Linked DNA regions of Homo sapiens: region 1 is linked to region 2. Evidence: promoter capture Hi-C in 16 types of primary human blood cells and fetal thymus (Javierre and others, 2016). All regions are on one chromosome and are shown on one strand. Each heading gives the region's core, a stretch centred on a gene start or on the middle of the fragment in contact. The rest is flanking DNA. Distances are from core to core; before and after follow the strand shown. Region 1 holds the start of ALOX15 (arachidonate 15-lipoxygenase). Region 2 has its middle 12 kb from the start of SPNS3.

What was found. The method cuts DNA at HindIII sites, captures the fragments that hold promoters and counts their contacts. A CHiCAGO score of 5 or more calls a contact.
Region 1: a contact is called between the fragment with the promoter of ALOX15 here and a fragment that was not itself captured in region 2, in 7 of 17 cell types (naive CD8 T cells, naive CD4 T cells, total CD4 T cells and 4 more). The highest score is 12.7, in naive CD8 T cells.

The regions. Positions count from the first base shown.
Region 1 is chr17:4,639,547-4,645,762 of GRCh38, reverse strand. It overlaps ALOX15 (arachidonate 15-lipoxygenase), which reads left to right and starts at 4,085. Exons shown (of 14, transcript NM_001140.5): 1 at 4,085-4,246; 2 at 6,132-6,216. The coding sequence starts at 4,112. LOC105371499 (a long non-coding RNA gene) reads right to left here and starts at 754. Exons shown (of 3, transcript XR_001752768.2): 1 at 1-754. The HindIII fragment of the contact is 20,783 bases long and covers 1-6,216 here.
Region 2 is chr17:4,418,693-4,424,846 of GRCh38, reverse strand. No RefSeq gene overlaps it. Among named protein-coding and RNA genes, the nearest start is that of SPNS3, 12 kb to the left of the region's middle. RefSeq lists a silencer at 3,958-4,157. The HindIII fragment of the contact is 2,099 bases long and covers 658-2,756 here.

The DNA.
Region 1 (6,216 bases), core at 2,836-5,335, 220 kb before region 2:
GTAGTTAATTTCTCTCAGAGAAAGCAGAACAAGAAAGAGGGAGAGTGGGGAGGGAGGAGACGGAAAGCCCTAATGTCTTTTAGGACCTAGCTTTGGAAGTCACACACATCATTTCATACTGCATTGGCTTTGCAGACCAACCCAGACACAATGTAGGAGACTATGGAAAGGCATGCATATCAGGAGGTCGGAATCACTGGGGGATGTTTTAAAGAATGGCCACCACGAGCATGCCCTCTGAATTCTGGTGATTTACATTCCTTCCACATGCAAAATACACTCGCTCCCTCTCAAGCTACCCCAAAGTCGAATCCCATTATAGCATCAGCTCAAAGTCTAGAATTTCATCATCTAAATCAGGTCCATGTATAGATGAGATTTCTCAACTGTATTACCTTAAGTATACTTCCAGAATACAATTCCTCCTCTTCTTTTTTTTTTTCTTTTTTAAAGAAGTTTCACTCTGTTGCCCAGGCTGGAGTGCAGTGGCACGATCTCAGGTCACTGCAATCTCTGCCTCTGGGGTTCAAGCGATTCTCCTGCCTCAGCCTCCTGAGTAGCTGGGATTACAGGTGTCCACCACCATGCCTGGCTACTTTTTGTATTTTTAGTAGAGATGAGGTTTCACCATGTTGGTCAGGCTGGTCTTGAACTCCTGAACTCAGCTGATTCTCCCACCTCGACCTCCCAAAGTGCTGGGATTACAGGCATGAGCCACCGTGCCTGGGCTCCTCTTCTTCTGAAGACCTGTAAACTAAAGAGAAAGTCATCTGACCCCACCCCCAACATACAATGTTGGAACAGGCATAGGCTAACCACCATAGATATCCCTATCCAAGACGGGAAGAAATGGCCTGGGTCTTTCCTCTCCCATCACAACTGCATCATAATCTAACCTCACTCAGTCTACCCACAAGTTACTGTGAATTACTTTTGGAAGCCTTCCCAACTCTTCAATCACACTTTTAATCTGCAAGAAAATTACTGGGTTTGTGCCATTTCTATGGAAGATGAATTTTACCCACCACATTTTGATTTTTCTGAATTTCACTTATAAAAAAAACCTTTTGGTTGGGCACGGTGGCTCACACCTGTAATCCCAGCACTTTGGGAGGCTGAGGCAGGCTGATCACATGAGGCCAGGAGTTCGAGACTAGCCTGGCCAACATAGCGAAAACCCATCTCTACTAAAAATACAAAAAATTAGCCGGGCATGGTGGCAGGCGACTGTAATTCCAGCTACTCGAGAGACTAAGGCAGGAGAATTGCTTGAGCCCGGGAGGCAGAGGTTTTAGTGAGCCAAGATCGCGCCACTGCACTCCAGCCTGGGCGACAAGAGCAAAACTCCTTCTCAAAAAAAGAAAAAAAAAAAAAGCTCAACTTTACTCATAATAAGGGTAATGCAAATTAAAATTAAAACTAGGGTACCATTTTTCACCTATCCGATTGGCTAAGGTAAGGTTATGAACACACCATTGGCAAGAGTGAGGAAGAATGGGCATTCTCATACACAGTCCACTGGTGGGAGTCTAAATCAGTACAACTTTCTACAGAGGGCAATTGAGCAGTTTCTGCCTAAATTCGATATGCTTTTGGTCCAGAAATTCTATCTCCAGGGTTTTGTTCTACAGAGATACTTTCATACGAGAAATGCTGTATATGCGAGGTTTATTTCTTTCAGCACTTTTTCATAGCTACAAAAGATTACTAATAACCTGTGTCCACTACAAGAGACTAGTAGAATTTATGGCGTTACAGCAAATGGCAGCCTTAGCAAAGAACAAGGAAGCTCTTTATGCATGGATATGGAATGACCTCCTGTTGCACTATGGAAAAACGAGATGCAGAATAAGGCATGCTACAATGTGCAGAAAAAGACAAAGATAGGCGTGTATTTGCTCAGTAATATTAGTGCACAGAAGAGACTGGTAACTGTGATTGCTGGGAGTGGAGCAACTGGGTGGCTTGGGGCCAAGAGGAGGGAGAAACTAGTGAATATCACTTTGTACCTTTTGAATTTTGAATCACATGAATGTACTTCCCAGTAAACAATTAAGCAGGGCCGGACATGATGGCTCATGGCTGTAATCCCAGCACTTGGGGAGGCCGAGGCAGGTGGATCACTTGAGGTCAGGAGTTCAAGACCAGCCTGGCCAACATGGTGAAACCCCATCTCGACTGAAAATACAAAAAGTAGCCGGGCATGTTGGTGGGTGCCTGTAATCCCAGCTACTCTGGAGGCTGAGGCAGGAGAATCGCTTGAACCCGGCAGGTGGAGGTTGCAGTGAGCCGAGATCACACCACTGTACTCTAGCCCGGGCAACAGAGCAAGACTCCATCTCATTAAAAAAAAAAACACCAAAAACAAAAAACAAGCAAACCAGAAAATATGCATCACAGACATATTTTCGTGGACTTCATTTGTGTTACCAGGCTGATTGTAATCCATGCCATGAAGTTTATGTTAGTATTCCCCTTTTGTTTACATTGCCTGATAATTTGTTTCCCTTTGTCTCCCCCAAGGGAAGCATTCATTTATAATGAATTTTTCAGCTCAGTGTGTTTCAGCAAACACTTATTGACACCCACAAACCCTGACACTGTGCCGTCTCCAGGGGAAACAAAAGTGAGAGTCCTGCTGGGTGTGTAGTCCCTGCCTAGGACGGGCTCACATTAGTGGGGGATACACACATACAAATGCTCACACTGCAGTATTAACTGTGCAACAGTAGAAGTGTGCGCAAGGAGAAAAGTGTTAGAAAGGAAAGCTGGGCCGGGCGCCGTGGCTCACACCTGTAATTCCAGCACTTTGGGAGACTGAGGTGGGTGGATCACAAGGTCAGGAGTTCAAGACCAGCGTGGCCAACATGGAGAAACCCCGTCTCTACTAAAAATACAAAAATTATCCAGGCATGGTGGCAGGCGCCTGTAATCCCAGCTACTCGGAAGGCTGAGGCAGAGAATTGCTTGAGCCCGGGAGGCAGAGGTTGCCGTGAGCCGAGATCGTGCCATTGCACTCCACCCTGCATTCCAGGGTGACAGAGTGAGACTCTATATCTCAAAAAAAAAAAAAAAAGGAAAGCTAATTCACTCTGGTGGGGTGGTGGGGGGTGAAAGTACCGGGTAAGACTTTCCTGAGAAACCGGAGGTGAACTAGGGTTTAGAAGCATGAATAGATGAATAGACTAATCCAGGAGCAAGTTCTTTTGAGAGAACAGCAGGTGGGGTTCTGGGGAACACATGGCTCCAGCCCAAAAAGAAACTGGAGACGAATTAGGGTTTAGAAGCATGACCAGACTAACCCAGAAGTGAGTTCTTTGAGAGAACAGCAGGGGCGGCGGGGGGAGGGGGGGTTCCGGGGAACACATGGCTCCAGCACAGGAGATGCCAGGGTGCAGTGGGATGAGAGGTGAGGAGAGCAGGTCAGGTTAGCAAGGGCATTGAATGCCAGAAACATTTGGACTTTTATTCTGCAGGCAACAGGGAGGCAGCGGCTTTTATGCTCAAAAGGAATGAGTCCCAGTGGCTGGCACAGAGAAGGCAAGTGTGCAAAGCTGGTCGAATGAATTCCGTGGCCTGAATGTACCTTCCTCAAATGCCACTGCAAACTGGGTCTCCTCGCCCACTTCACCCTCTCCTGCAATCCAACTTGTGAGGCTTGTGTGTGCGCGCGCGTGTCCTTGCGTGTGTGTGTGTGTGCACGCGTGCGTTTAGATGGAGGTTGGCTTCCCAGCCACCCAGGCTTGGCCCAAAGTCCGTGGTACACACGTGCATAACTCCTACCCCCACCTCGCCTGCCTGCTGTACCAGGCGTTGATTCCCTCTTCCTGCGTGTTTTCGGTCCAAATCCTTTTCTTTTTCTCCCTCCCGTCAAGATAGTGGTTTCCACTCCCTGCTCTCGCCAGGACACCGCCTTTTGGACTGGGGCTGAATTCTGCCCCTTGAAGCTCTGCTCCTTGGAGCTGGGGGCCCCAGCGGTAGGCGGAGTTGATTGGAGACCTGCCACCCACATTCCGACCCCAAGCGACCTCCGAGAGGGCGGGGTCTCAGGCTGGGTTATTTAGCTCGTCCACCCTTCTCCACCAGAAGGAGCGAAACATCTTTGAGCAAGATGGGTCTCTACCGCATCCGCGTGTCCACTGGGGCCTCGCTCTATGCCGGTTCCAACAACCAGGTGCAGCTGTGGCTGGTCGGCCAGCACGGGGAGGCGGCGCTCGGGAAGCGACTGTGGCCCGCACGGGGCAAGGTGAGCTCCCCAGAGCCGGGCGGGGTGGGCTGCGCCCCTGGCTCCGAGTCAGTCAAATACCGGGGAGGACATGCGCCCCCGTTGGCCTCTGGCCGATTCTCTTTGCCAAGGGCCCGCGCATTGGGCTCAAAGCGCGCGGAGGCCACGGGGGTGGGGGGCTTTAGGGCAGTCGGTGGCACACAGTAAGCGCTCAATAAATGTTGCCGCTACCCGATCTCCTTGGAATTGAGGGCATGCTCCTGTGCGCCCCTCATTGCACAAAGCTCCCTTGTCTGGAAACTCAGCAGTCACTGGAGCCGCCGTCGGTCCTCTCGCTTTCTCTATTTTAAAAACCGTTTCAACCGCTAGCGCTGTTGGATCTCTACCTTTCAGGCTTTATCACCTGGGGTGGAGTGGGTGGTGAGAGGGAAGGGATGGGGAGTCAAGACAGGAGAACGCTCTCGATTTCCCGACCCACCTCCCGTCATATCTCATGTCACATCTACCGGGTGTTCTACCCGGTCCTGTTAACTTTTTTTCTTCCGCGAAAGCCCAAATTCCCATCACTGCTCTAGCTCTCTCCCAGATCCCCAAATCCGGATGTCTGTCTCAGGGAACGTCAAAGCAACATGCCCGGATGAGGTCCTCCCCTCTCCCCACCTCCCAGCCCTCTCCTCCTGCCTCCCCCGGTGTCACCCGCGCCTCCTTCCTCTCTTCACCTCCCTCTAAACAAGAATCCGGCGCAGTCAGTTCTAGACCCTGAGCATCTCCCGCGTCCCTGCCCAATATCCGTCCCGCCCCCGACCGCCCGCGTCCTCTTGAACCTGCGGAGCCCTGCTCCCCGCACTCCACGCCCTTGCTCCGAGCTTCCGAGAAAGCGGGGCAAAGGGAGCCAGGAAGAGAGAAAATGCGCACGGAGCAGGTGGCCCCGCGACTCCATGGTGAGGGGACGGGGCACGGAAGGTGGAAAGGCGCGCTCCCTCCTCCCTTTTTTCCTCCCTATGGTGGGCAGTTGGTGACACACAGTAAAGGCTCAATAAATGTTCCCGCTACTCGATCTCCTTGGAATTAAGGGGATGCTCCTGAGCGCCCCTCATTCCACACAGCTCTGGTGCCTGGAAACTGCGGTCGCCGGAGCGGTCGTCGGTCCTCCCGGTTTCTCTATTTTAAAAGCCATTTCAAACCTCCAGCGGCCTCGCCACCTCTGCTGCAGACCTTCCAAGCCCTTCTGAAGCCGGAATGATTTCTCCCTAATTCACTCCCCCTGCTTAACACATTCGAACGGCTCCCGCTTGTTCTCGGGACCAAATCCAAAGCCCCTGGCGCCACCTTCGAGAGCCTCCGGACCTGCTGACCCCCCACACCTGGGCTCTGAGCTCCAGCTCCAAGATGCTGCTCGCCCTCCCTTCCCCGCCGCTCTCTTTCTGCGCGCCTTTCCCCTGCCTTCCCTTTCTGTCACTCTCCCTGGCTGAGCCCTCTCCGCCTCCAGGTCTCCGGGAAGGTTGTCCCCAGGCCGGTGGGGCCCCTGCAGGTCCTCAGCCTCGGGCGGGGTGGGGTGGGGGGTCGCACAGCGGGAATTGCCACCAGCGCGTCCGGGCTCCACAGCGCGCTCGTCCAGGGCGCGGCAGCGCTCAGCCCAGCGCTTGGCACAGTCAGTGACCACAGGGAGGAGAAAGTGAAGGCAGGAGCGCACCTTCCCACCTGCCGTCCCCGTCCCCTCAGAACCGAGTCCTGGGGCCACCTGCTCGGCGCGGTCCCTCTCTCTCTGGCTCAGTCCCCGCACCCCGATACGTCTCCTCCTCTCAGAGGCTCCGAGGAAGGGCGTGGGCGCTGGAGGGAGCAGGGCTCAGCCGGGTGCCCCTCCCGCCAGGCCCCACCGGGGCTGAGCCTCTTCTGTCGCCCGCAGGAGACAGAACTCAAGGTGGAAGTACCGGAGTATCTGGGGCCGCTGCTGTTTGTGAAACTGCGCAAACGGCACCTCCTTAAGGACG
Region 2 (6,154 bases), core at 458-2,957:
ATTTTACCACAATTAAAAAAAAAGTAAATGGGGTTATTGTAATATCAGAACAGTGACAACATTCTAGATTCCCAGCTTCAGAGGCTGGTTAAATAAATTATGGTACCTCCAGGCCAGGCGCCGTGGCTCATGCCTGTAATCCCAGCACCTTGGGAGGCCGAAGCAAGCGGATCACCTGAAGTCAGGAGTTCGAGACCATCCTGGCCAACATAGAGAAACCCCGTCTCTACTAAAAATACAAAATTAGCCGGGCGTGGTGGCACATGCCTGTAATCCCAGTTATTTGGGAGGTTGAGGCAGGAGAATCGCTTGAACCCTGGAGGCGGAGGTTGCAGTGAGCTGAGATCCTGCCATTGCACTCCAGCCTGGGCAACAAGAGCGAAACTCCATCTCAAAAAAAAAAAAATTAAATTAATAAATAAATCATGGTACCTCCCTACAATGGGGCACCAGACAGCCCTGTACATGATGTTAGTCTATGTTGATCTGAAAGACGTTCAGAATTTGATGGTGAAAAATAAACAAGAGCCTACAAAATCCATGTCCAGGATAATTCCATTCAGATAAAAATAATAAAACACATCAAAGACAAACTTGTGAACTGGCCAGTCATAGCTTATTTGGCTGCTTTTTCTCGTGAATTCTGATACAGAAGCTTATTGGGGGCCAGGCGTGGTGGCTCACACCTGTAATCCCAGCACTTTGGGAGGCCAGGGCGGGCAGATCACCTGAGGTCAGGAGATAGAGACCAGCCTGGCCAACATGGTGAAACCCCGTCTCTACTAAAAATACAAAAAAATTAGCCGGGCATGGTGGTGGTGCCTGTAATCCCAGCTACTTGGGTGACTGAGGCAGGAGAATCCCTTGAACCCAGTAGGCAGAGGTTGCAGTGAGCCAAGATCGCACCACTGCACTCCAGCCTGGGCAACAAGAGCAAAACTCCATCTCAAAAAAAAAAAAAAAAAGCTCATTTGAGATGATTTTTAGTGGAGACCCTTCCAGAGTGGCTCCCATCAGAGTTTAAATTTATGTCCTTTTTTTAACAAAAGAAATGTCCAGCCTCACAGAATAGGAGGTGACAGGCTGGGCACAGTGGTTCACACCTGTAATTCCAACAGTTTGGGAGGCCAAGGTGAGAGGATTGTTTGAACCCAGGAGTTTGAGACCAGCCTGGGCAACAGGCCCCCATCGCTGCAAAAAAAAAAAAAAAAATTAGACAGGCATGGTGGTGGTGTGCCTGTAGTCCCAGCTACTCAGGAGGTTGAGGCAGGAGGATTGCAGGATTGCTTGAGCCAAGGAGGTTGAGGCTGTAGCGAGCTGTGATTGCATCACTGTACTCCAGCCTCAGTGACAGAGCAAGACCCTTAATCAAAAAAAAAAAAAAAAAGAAGGTCACAGGAAGTCACTCAGGAATCACTTTTTTTTTTTTTTGAAATGGAGTCTCCCTGTGTCACCCAGGCTGGAGTGCAGTGGTGCAGTCTCGGCTCATTGCAAGCTCCACCTCCCGGGTTCACGCCATTCTCCTGCCTCAGCCTCCTGAGTAGCTGGGACTACAGGCACCTGCCACCACACCCAGCTAATTTTTTGTATTTTTAGTAGAGACGGGGTTTCACTGTGTTAGCCAGGATGGTCTAGATCTCCTGACCTTGTAATCCACCCACCTCGGCCTCCCAAAGTGCTGGGATTATAGGCATGAGCCACCGAGCCCGGCCAGGAATCACTCTTCAGAAATCCCCAGGGAGTCATCTTTTATGTGATGAATCAATAAGGATGCTTTTGTCCGCAAGTAACAGCAGAAGTAACAGCAGCCAAACCAGGACATTCATTCGTTCTCTTGCACTGCAAATCAAGAAGTAGGCAGTTTCAGGGTTGATTAACTCAGTGGCTCCATGACATCATAAAAAACTCAGTGTTTTTCATCTTTCCCCCCTGAAATCTTTATAGTGTTGGCCTTTGATTACTTAATTAATTGCTATAAAACAAATCCCCCCAGAACTCATGGCTTTAAACAACAGTAGTCATTTATCTCTTGCATTTTTCAGTGGTCAGGAATTTGGGAGCAGCTGAGATGCAGGACTATGGCTCAGGGTCTCTTGTTGCCGTGAAGGGCTGCAGTCCCCTAAAGTCTTAACTGGGGCTGGGAGCTCTGTTTCCAAGGGGCCTCACTCACGTGGCAGGCAAGTTGGTGCTGCCTGTTGGCTCCTGTCTAGATGGGTCCCTCCACAGGACTGCTTGAGCATCCTCACGGTATGGTGGCTAGTTTCCTGCAGGGGGAACAATACATTAGGGACCAAGGCAGAAACTGCAACATCTTTTTTTTTTTTTTTTTTTTTTTTGAGACAGAGTCTTGCTCTGTCACCCAGGACGTAGTGCACTGGCACAATCTCCACTCGCTGCAACCTCCATCTCTTGGGTTCAAGCGATTCTCCCACCTCAGCCTCCTGAGTCACTGGGATTACAGGCGCATGCCACGACGCCCAGCTAGTTTTTGTATTTTTAGTAGAGACAGCGTTTTACCATGTTGGCCAGGCTGGTCTTGAACTCCTGACCTCAGGTGATCCAGCTGCCTCGGCCTCTCAAAGTGCTGGGATTACAGGCGTGAGCCACTGCGTCTGGCCTGCATCTTTCCTGACCTGGACTCCTAGGTCTGTACTCAGCTGCATTCCATTGGCCACACAGGCCAGTCTATGCTCTGTGTTCCCATACTCTCTGCTGCCCCTCCATGTGGAAGGGCATGAATACCAGGAGGGAAAGCTTGCGGGAGATCTTTTTTAAAAAAAGAAGATTTATGTATTTTATTCAAGCCAATTTTTTTTTTGTTTTGCTTTGTTTTTGAGATGTCGTTTTGCTCTTGTCGCCCAAGCTGGAATGCAGTGGTGCAATCTCAGCTCACTGCAACCTCTGCCTCCCAGGTTCAAGCAATTCTCCTGCCTCAGCCTCCCAGAAGTAGCTGGGATTACAGGCACTTGCCACCACGCCCGGCTAATTTTTGTATTTTTAGTAGAGACAGGGTTTCTCCATGTTGGCCAGGCTGGTCTCGAACACCTGACCTCAGGTGATACACCCGTTTCAGCCTCCCAAAGTGCTGGGATTACCAGCCTGAGCCACCACGCCCTGCCACGAGATCTTCTTGCAGGCTGGCTACCACAGTCTCCATCTTGAGGCTTGTCGTCTCACATATAAGAAGGTAGGAGATTCATCCTGAAATGTGTTCATGTGTATTTATTAGGGAGGAAAATCTGCCCTAGAAATTCCCCTGCTGGTGCTCCCTCACAGCCCACTGGCCAGGTTGAGTCACATGTCGGTGCCACGTCTGCAGGAGAAGCTGGGAAGGTGGGTGCCAGGGAAGTCTGCCTCTGTCTCTGAGGAAGAATGGGAAAGAAAGGGGCCACAGGGTAGCCGGGCGCAGTGGCTCATGCCTATAATCCCAGCACTTTAGGAGGCTGAGGCGGGCGGATCACTTGAGGTCAGGAGTTTGAGACCAGCCTGGCCAACATGGTGAAACCCTGTCTCTACTAAAAATACAAAAATTAGCCAGACGTGGTGGCAGGCGCCAGTAATCTCAGCTACTCGGGAGGCTGAGGCAAGAGAATCGCTTGAACCCAGGAGGCAGAGGTTGCAGTGAGCCGAGATTGTGCCACTGCACTCCAGCCTGGGGAGACAAGAGCAAGACTTCGTCTCGAAAAAAAAAAAAAAAAAGAAAGTGGCCACGGGATAAGCAGACCATGTCTTCGCAGATGGCTAACCACCTCTCAGCCTTGATGCTTGCAGGGCTGAAACGAGCTCCTGGTATGGATTCCCAAAGAGGAAGGGAAAATTTTAGGTTCTAGATCTAGAAGGTGGCAGATGTCAGAAGCTGTCCTAACCCAGGCCTCCTGGAGCTAGGAGTCACCCTAGATGGTGGAAAGTGTGCAGGAAATACAGCCACTGAACCCTGAGAACAGCAAGCTTGACATCTCAAGCCTAGAACCCTTCTCGCTGAGGTTAGCACGATTTCAAAAAGCATCGTTACCACCAAGTCCTGGGGACTGGTTACAACCAGGTTTCAATGGCGACACCATGTGGTCATGATGGGAAATAGCAGTCATGACCTATGCCCCGCATGGTGTAGGCTCTCAAAAGTTTCTGGGTGATACAGGGTGGTCTCAAGATCCTGAATGGTTTTTGTTTTTTTGAGACAGGGTCTCACTCTATCAACCAGGCTGGAGTGCAGTAGCAGTCATCACAGCTCACTGCAGCCTCCATCTCCTGGGCTCAAGCGATCCACCTGCCTCGACCTCTCAAAACGCTGGGATTACAGGCGTGAGCCACCACACCTGGCCCTGGATTTCTTTTTAATAAGGCATACACAGGCCCGGCGTGGTGGCTCACACCTGTAATCCCAGCACTTTGGGAGGCCAAGGAGGGTGAAACACGAGGTCAGGAGTTCGAGACCAGCCTCTACTAAACCACGCCTCTACTAAAAATACAAAAATTAGCCGGGCATGGTGGCACATGCCTGTAGTCCCAGCTACTTCGGAGGCTGAAGCAGGAGAATTGCTTGAACCTGGGAGGTAGAGGTTGCAATGGGGCAAGATTGCGACATTGCACGCCAGCCTGGGAGACAGAGCGAGACTCCGTCTAAAATAATAACAATAATAATAAGGCATACACAAGCATGAACAATTAATTGGGAAAATTAGAGTTATGATCATATTTTAGACCACATTGTGGAACTGGCCATATTTATAAAGTATGTTCATATAGTGAAAGTGTGGAAGGCTATATCTCAAAGGCTTAACAGTGTACTTATCTCAGGCTCATAGAACTATAGGTAAACTTTTTTCCTTTATTTCTTTTTTCTATCATTACATGCCAGTAATAACAATAGCAAACACTAACAGAGCACATACCATGTGCTGAGTGCCTGTTAATTGGCGATGATCATTATGCTGGCTGGGTGCGGTGGTTCACGCCTGGAATCCCAGCACTGTGGGAGGCCGAGGCAGGTGGATTACGAGGTCAGAAGTTCGAGATCAGCCTGGCCAATATGGTGAAACCCCATCTCTACTAAAAATACAAAAATTAGCTGGGCTTGGTGGTGCACACCTGTAGTCCCAGCTGTTCAGGAGGCTGAGGCATGAGAATCACTTGAACCTGGGAGGTGGAGGTTGCAGTGAGCTGAGATCGTGCCACTGTACTCCAGCATGGGCAACAGAGCAAGACTCCATCTCAAAAAAAAAAAAAATTCTCATTATGCTTACTTTTTGGCGGGGGCAGGCAGAGACAGGGACTCTTTCTGTCACCCAGGTTGGAGTTCAGTGTTGCAGTCATAGCTCGCTGCAGCCTTGCCCTCCTCGGCTCAAGCGATCCTCCCACCTCAGCCTCCTGAGTAGCTGGGACTACAGGTGTGCAACATCACATTTGGCTAATTTTTTATTTTTTATTTTGTTTTTTAAAGAGGGGGCCTCCCCATGTTGCCCAGGCTGGTCTCAAACTCCTGGGCTCAAGTGATCTTCCCATCTCGGCCTCCCAAAGTGCTGAGATTATAGGCGTGAGCCACCATGACCAGCTTATACTTACTTTTTACGCGAGGAAACTGAGACACAAGGAAGCTAAGTCAGTGCCCCATGTAGCTCTGAACTCTGTGCTCCCATCCTCTCTGCTGTACTGCCTCCCTGTCTTATCTGTGTATATTAATTTTTCTGCAGTGTGTCGCTTGCATAGTAATAATATAAGAAAAGAAAAAGCAGTGGGATGTATACCTTTTTCCACCCTCCCCCCCGCAAGACGGAGTCTTGCTCTGTCACCCAGGCTGGAGTGCAGTGGCGCGATCTAGGCTCACTGCAACCTCCGCCTCCTGGGTTCAAGTAATCCCCCTGCCTCAGCCTCCAGGGTAGCTGGGATTACAGGCACACACCACCACACCCGGCTAGTTTTTGTATTTTTAGTAGAGATGGGGTTTCACCATGTTGGACAGGCTGATCTCGAACTTCTGACCTTGTGACCTGCCTCCCTTGGCTTCCCAAAGTGCTGGGATTACAGGTGTGAGCCACCGCACCCAGCCTGATATATAGCTTTTATAATCAGAAAAAAAATAATGCTGGCTGGGCATGGTGGCTCATTCCTGTAATCCCAGCTTTTTGACAGGCTGAGATGGGAGGATTGCTTGAGC